Linked DNA regions of Homo sapiens: region 1 is linked to region 2. The links are contacts of gene promoters, found by promoter capture Hi-C in human tissues and cell types (Jung and others, 2019). All regions are on one chromosome and are shown on one strand. The core of a region is centred on a gene start or on the middle of the fragment in contact, and the rest is flanking DNA. Distances in the headings are between cores, read along the strand shown.

Region 1 (3,825 bases), core at 963-3,462, 54 kb before region 2:
TGCATTTGTTTGTCATGTTTCCTTAGTCTCCTGCAATCTGTGACTTTTCCTAGTCCTTTCCTTGTCTTTTATCACCTGGACACATTTGAAAGTGGTTTTGGTATTTTTAGAATGTCTGTCACATTGGGTTTGTCTAATGTTTTCTAATGATTAGAGTAAGATTGTGAATTGTCATGAGAAGAATAGCACATTAGTGTCTTTCTCTTATCATATAAGAGGAAGTATGTAATGTGATTATCTCATTATTGGTGATGTTAACCCTGATGTATTGGTTAATGTAGGGTGTGCCACATTTCTTCACTGTAAAGTTACAGTTTCTCTCTTTCCATATTGTTTGTTAGAAGCAAGTCACTAAGTTCAGTCGACATTCAGGGGGAAGAGAACTAAGCTTCACCTCCTGAAGGGAGAAGTATCGAAGAATTTGTGGACATATGTTAAAACCACCACAATAATTACTATTTTAGAGGAGTTTGGGGGGCTTTTTTACAAATAAAATACTAAAGCTTCACTTTTAGCATTCCTCAGTGGATCTTGCCTGCAGCAGTTATTACTGTGATGTTTGAAAGGTCATTTTCAATTTTCCTTGTTCTTTGTACCACTTATACTTTCTTCTCCAATTATTTATGCAATCATTTATTTACATTGGTATGGTCTCATGAGTAGTTCTTTTGTTCTTTGGGTTATAATTCAATACTATCATTTTCTTGCTCAAATTGTTTCACCTTTGGCCATTGGAAGGTCTTTCACATTAGTTCCTGTGTCTTCTTGAAGTGCCCCTGTTTTGTTTTTAACGCTAAGGGCGCCTTTTAATCTGTGGTGTGCTGCTAATTTCATAATGCTGTATCTGAGAATAGATTTTTATTTGTTGTGCTAATGACTTGTACTCTGGGTCACCTCTCTCCCTCTCTCTCTCTTTCTCTGTCTCTCTCTCTCTGTCTCTCTGGGCTCTTAGTAGACATATTTTGGAATCTCTAGGGTTTTTTTTTTTTTTTTGGTCTTACAGTTTTTCTCTTATATCTTTTGTCTCATTACCATTTTATTTTCCATGAAATTTTTTAAGTTTACTTTCAGATATTTCTATTGAATTGCATTTTAATTTCCAATAGTGTATTCCATCATTGTTGGTGGGTTTTGTTTTGTTTTACTGCATTTTGTTCTCATTGTATGGATGCAGGTGCTTGCTGAAATTATCTCAGTTTTTTAATCTAGAATTTTATGTTTCCTCCAGGATGATTTTTTTGTCTGTATCTTTTTCCAGTGTTGTAGGCGTTCCTGAATTGTCCAGTGATTCTTTGTTTTTGTTCAAGTTGATGATGATGATGATGATGATGGTGGTGGTGGTGGTGGTGGTGGTGGTGGTGGTGGTCATGGTGGTGATTTGATGAAATCTTAAGTGAAAGATTTTGAAAACTTTATGAGCTAGTGGCGTTTTGTTTTGGTTTTTTTGAGACAGGGTCTCTGTCTGTCACCAGGCTGGAGTTCACTGGCACGATCACAGCTCACTGCAACCTCCTCCACCTCCCAGGCTCAAGTGATCCTCACACCTCAGCCTCCCGAGTAGCTGGGACCACAGGTGCATGCCACCACACCTGGCTAATTTTTCTATTTTTTGCAGAGACAGATTTTTCTCAGTGTTGCCCAGGCTGGTGTTGAACTCCTGAGCTCAAGCAATCCATCCTCCTCAGCCTCCTGGAGTGTTGGGATTATAGGTGTGAGCCACTGCCTCTGCCAAGCTAGTGGCTTTTATTTTAGGTAACTGGGTGGAACACTGTGTTACACTGGAAGATGCCTAATTACCAAAATACAATAATATGCTGTGCAACCATGTTTTTTTAAGATACAAATCTTTAATATTAACATTTTGCCCCAATTTTTTGATAGTAGTTATAGTCTATGTATGGACTTTAATTTTGTTTTATGTTCCATGTCTCCCTCCCAGCAGAAGACATTGACTGTCTTCTAGAACATATTCTCTTCCTTGACAATTTATTTTCTAGTTTGCAGACATTTGATATAATCATTGTTTTGCTGATGGACTTCCTTTCCTTTTTTTTTTTTTTTGTTATTGTAGATTTAACCCTTTTATGCCTTTACTATTATTTTAATGGGTGTCTCAGTGGGGAGAATAAACAAACACATGTAATCATGCTGCTCTCTTAAACTTTAAAGGGTTACATTTAGCCAGGTGCAGTAGTGCACACCTATAGTCCCAGCTACTCAGGAGGCTGAGGCGGGAGAACTGCTTGTGCTAGGAGTTCGAGGCTATAGTGCCTATGATCCCGTGAATAGCCACTGCACTCCAGCCTGGGCAATATAACAAGACCCCGTCTCTTAAAAAAAAAATACTGATAACTTGGAAATACTATAATGATACAACTAAATGGATAATGTCTATAATAACGATGTCATATAGATATGCACACTTTTATGTTACATGTGTTAATATAGTGTACTTTGTGAATATTTTATTGTAGATACTTTGCCTACTTACTGGACTGTTTTATTTGCCATTCATAATCCACTTAGAAGTAAGGCAATCTAGGGATGATTTTTAGCAACTAGTGTTATAGGGATCTTTAACCAGATCTCAAATTCTTTTTCACCAGCTAAGAAAAAATCCTTTTCAAAAGAGCCCCTAAAAAGTCTTGTGCAACTGCAGTATAGGTTCTTTATAATATATGACGACTTAGTGTTTTAGCCAAGATACAATTTTATATAAAGTTAAATGTATTTATAATTGTATCAATAATTATAAGCTTAAGTGGAAATGAAACAGATTCTGTAAAATTCATTTGGGAATGAAACTTCAATTTTTTTAACAAAATAAGGAATATTTGATCAAAACAGATGAAACAGAAAACTCCATCAATTTCGTTGAAGTTTTCTCACAGAATTTTGTTGTTGTTGTTGTTGCTGAGACCATGTCACCCAGGCCAGAACGCAGTGATGTGATCATAGCTCACGGCAGCCTTGACCTCCTGGGCTCAAGCAGTCCTCCCACCTCAGCTGCCTGAGTAGCTGGGACTTGCAGGCCTACACCACTACACCTAGCTAATTTTTTTTTTTTTTTAAAGGTGGGTTTTTGCTATGTTGCCCAGGCTGGTCTTTTTTTCTTTTTTCTTTTTTTTTTTTTTTTTTTTTTTTGAGATGGAGTCTCGCTCTGTCACCCAGGCTGGAGTGCAGTGGCATGATCTTGGCTCACTGCAAGCTCCGCCTCCTGGGTTCATGCCATTCTCCTGCCTCAGCCTCCCGAGTAGCTGGGACTACAGGCGCCCGCCACCACACCCGGCTAATTTTTTGTATTTTTAGTAGAGATGGGGTTTCACTGTGTTAGCCAGGATGATCTCAATCTCCTGACCTTGGATCCACCCGCCTCGGCCTCCCAAAGTGCTGGGATTACAGGCGTGAGCCACTGTGCCCAGCCCCAGGCTGGCGTTAAACTCCTATCCTCAAGTGATCCTCCCACCTCAGCCTCTCAAAGTGCTGGGATTATAGGTGTGAGCCACAGTGCCCAGCCCCAGAATTTTCTTATATAAATGTTTTAATTAGTATGTGAAACATCAAAACTGTTGCCCTTTGTGTCCACTGTTGGCCAGAATGGACCAAGTTATCTACAACTTGTCTGTTCCATTGACTACACTAAAAACTCTGGACAAGTTTACTTATTTGTTTTCTTAAGTATCTAAATGAGGACAATGAAAAGCAAACTATAGCAGGCAATTGAGAAATGAAGTGAAAACTTGAATTTGAATAACAGTGTATCATATGTGTTCATTTCATAGAGATCTTTTTCCCTCCTTTGTCTCCCAGGTTTAACCCTGCGGG
Region 2 (3,608 bases), core at 31-2,530:
TTTTCCTGCTAGATTTGAAAGTGGTTATTCACTTTCAATTTAATTCAACTATTATTTACAGAATTCCCGGTTTTCTAGGTTACAGGGATGTGAAGCTGGAATATAAGAGGGGAGAGAAGGAACTGGTGATTGCCAGCCTTGTATACCAGCAACTGGGAGCCCCAAAGATTATTATGGACAATATAAAGCAGCCTTGACAGGTTAGAAGTCATTATCAAAGTTTTCCAAGGCCCTGTGTTATTTCAAGATTCTGATCACATAACTGGAAACTTGTCGATGGTTTTCAGGGGCAGTTAATATCCTGCAAAGAAAAAAATTGTTGAAGCCTCATCTTCTGGAAATGTCTGTCAACATTCAGGTATTAAATGGATTATTGTGGGCAACAGTCCTTCAGTAGCCCCCATGGAAGGGGTGGGGATTGAAGACTTTAGTTTGAAATAAACAATTAACAAAGGAGACTTAAAAGTTTAGTTGAGGACTCCTCCTCAAAATTCTGGTTGCTTTAATAATTAGAATTTCCATAAGAGTCTCAACGAAAGCCACTAATGGACCGCAGTGAAATCCTATTTCAGTATCATGAAACTGTTTTTAATCTGAAGCTTTTTCTCTTTGACCTTTTTACTCTTGAATTAAATGATAAATCTATAGATTTTCGGAACATTTTGGAGATCACGAAAGGGCACTGTGCGTTCTCTTACTGGGTGTACTGAAGTTCCAGTAAGTTTCAGGTTGAGGATGGCAATCAGGAGGACTTCGAATACTTAGATCTTGGATTCCCACAACTAGGAAAGTTGAATTGCAGGACTGGCTCTCTTCTGGTAATATTTGGACACCTTGGGAAAGGTGAATAACAGCCTTCAACTTGGGCCCCGAAACTTCTCTGTTACTTATTTTTGTAACTTAGTTCCTTGCCCATAAAACAAAGACTGACCAGTCAGAGACTTGGCTTTCTACGGATTATGTCAACTAGTCAAGGTAAGAGATTAGCACGGACCTTGGCACAAGAGAGCATTGCTTCATCCAGAGCACTTAACCAATGCTGGGATCTCCACCAAGTGTCCAGTAGGCGAAGGAGCCGGAGGGCAGTGGAGCGAGCGCACTGGGGGCTCAGACCCACCCCGGACACGCGGCTTCTCGGCCGTGTTCGGGACCTAGAGCCCGAGGGCCTCTCCCCTCGGCCTTGGCCTTGGCGTATACTGGGCGGTGGCGCGGTGCGCTCACTCCGCCCCCAGCGGGCTGGGGCGGGGACACCGTCCCCCGGGAAACGGGACGCGCTGCTTGTCCCAGGCCTTCGCTTCGGCCTGCGAGGCTACAGCTGTGCGCAGTGGCGCGGCTGCTAAGTAGCAGCAGGTGGGAGACTAGGGTCTGCGCTCGCGGCGACCGCGGAGGAGGGTGGGCGCCTGCGGAGGTGTCCTCGCTCACTTCGGGGGGCCCAGAGTCTCGGGTGAGGAGCCAGCCGGCCTCGCGTTCCCTCGGACGGTTGCCCAATGGCAGCCCAGGTGGCAGCCCGGGAGGCGCGAGACTTCAGAGAAGCCCCGACCCTTCGCCTAACCTCGGGGGCCGGCCTGGAGGCAGTGGGCGCTGTGGAGCTCGAGGAGGAGGAGGAGAACGAGGAGGAGGCGGCGGCCAGGAGAGCGCGGAGTTTCGCCCAAGACGCGCGGGTGCGCTTCCTCGGCGGCCGCCTGGCGATGATGCTGGGGTTCACGGAGGAGAAATGGAGCCAGTATTTGGAAAGCGAGGACAACCGGCAGGTTCTTGGGGAGTTTCTGGAAAGCACCAGCCCGGCTTGCCTTGTGTTTAGCTTCGCCGCCTCGGGGCGCCTTGCGGCTTCCCAGGAGGTAAGAGGCGACGGGCAAGGGGACCTGCCCATCCAACAAAACTACCCAGGGGAGACAGCCCAGTCGCTCCCCTTTGGATTCCCGCGGGGCGCTCACTCGGGCACTTTAACAAACTTGGCTTGAAGTCCCCATCCTGAGGCCCGCAGGACTCCTCCCCACGTGCACCCACTCTGCAGTTCAGCAGCTGCAGGTTAGTTTCCTAAGTCAGCAGTTTGTATCTGACCGAGAATCCCGCGTTGAGCCTGTTCGACCAGGATAACCCAAGAACACCAGCGCTTTCTTTAGCTGCTTGGGTGTTAGGCGCCAGGTGGGCTTTCTGTGCCAAAAAACTTGCGTTTCAGTTGCTCTTGGGTCACTCTGGAGTCACATCCTTTAAAAAATGGGGTGTTTGGCAGAGCGCATGTAACTCGTCACGTATTTTGATTACGTGCCAACAACACTTCACCCCAGGCAAAAACATTAAGTCCTTAAAAAGGAAGGCCCCTGCAATCTCCGCACACATGGGTGTTTACTGAACATTTAGAGGGAACAGTTCCCTCCTTTCTTCTTTTTCTTCCTTTTCTTTTTGAATTTCGATGATTTGTCCACTAAAAGGTTAACGTATCACCTAACGTACAGCACTTGTATTTAGTATTTTTCAAGTATGATGAGTTTGGAGCAAGATTCACAATTTTTAAGTAGCGCAATGCTCAGTTTAACATGTTATGTCGTTTTATCACTAGGTGTGGTCATTGTAATAGTTGGGAAATAGGATCTCAGAGAAGAAAGAGTAATAGGAAGGCTGCCTTATGGTATTGTGAATTTTGAATTCTTTTGTTTTAGGACTCTCCTAATTGTAACTTTAAAAAAAATAAGTTTGTCAGTAGACAAGGCGATAGAACACAACTCTAGTATTACCTAAGTTAAATAGTTATTATAATGTTCAATGGAATGACTCAGTAGTTGTGGAAATGTTAGCATGTTTTGGTTATACGGTTCTATTCTTTGATAGAAATACAAATTAACCTCTTGGGCTTGTCTTTATCTCAGTTTGGCTTATTTCCAAACCAGAGAAGAGTATAAAAAATAACCCTTTAGGATTGAAACATTTCTACATGCCTACGTGCTCCTTATTTGTTTTTAGTTATAAGATTTTTTTTTTGGTGTATAATGAACTGGTATAATTGGCATGCCTTTAAAAGGTGATATTTCCACACCAGTAATGCTGTGAAATTAGCATTATAAAAGAACAAAGAAAACTGTATACTCGCTGCATACTAGGGAAGAGCCGTAGAAGGACCTTGTTTATAGGGCAGGCAAGATGCCAGGTTTTGTTTCTTCTGCTAGCAATACAGCTACAAGTTGGATATAGTAAATCCTGCTTGTTAACAAGAAAACTACTTGAACTAATTATCTTGCTCTTGTTTTAGATTCCAAGAGATGCAAACCATAAACTTGTTTTTATTTCCAAGAAGATTACTGAAAGCATTGGAGTAAATGACTTTTCTCAAGTGGTTTTATTTGGAGAGTTACCTGCGTTGTCTCTTGGACATGTATCTGCTTTCCTTGATGAGGTACTGGTCTGTCTTTAATATTTAAAGCTTTCACTTATCTCCATGACATTTGAAATTATTTAGGACAACTCCGATAATTAAAAAAAGAAGAGCTAGGAGGGGAAGGGAAGGGGATGGGGGTGGTTAAAAAAAAAAAAAAAAAAAAAAGCTTGTAGAAGCCAGGAGTCTCTAGCCAGGTGGATGGAGTCATAACATCTAGACTGTTCCTGAAAGGAGC

The links. Contacts are between HindIII fragments. The study calls those that stand out against the background at their distance.
Region 1: a contact is called between a fragment that was not itself captured here and the fragment with the promoter of DNAH11 in region 2, in 1 of the 25 tissues and cell types used here (neural progenitor cells).

What each region holds. Positions count from the first base shown.
Region 1 is chr7:21,486,434-21,490,258 of GRCh38, forward strand. All of the region lies in intron 5 of SP4 (Sp4 transcription factor), which reads left to right. Among named protein-coding and RNA genes, the nearest start is that of MIR1183, 17 kb to the left of the region's middle. The HindIII fragment of the contact is 6,302 bases long and covers 1-3,825 here.
Region 2 is chr7:21,541,759-21,545,366 of GRCh38, forward strand. It overlaps DNAH11 (dynein axonemal heavy chain 11), which reads left to right and starts at 1,281. Exons shown (of 82, transcript NM_001277115.2): 1 at 1,281-1,838; 2 at 3,248-3,391. The coding sequence starts at 1,488. RefSeq lists enhancers at 603-1,104, 3,437-3,608 and a silencer at 1,153-1,202. The HindIII fragment of the contact is 7,632 bases long and covers 1-3,608 here.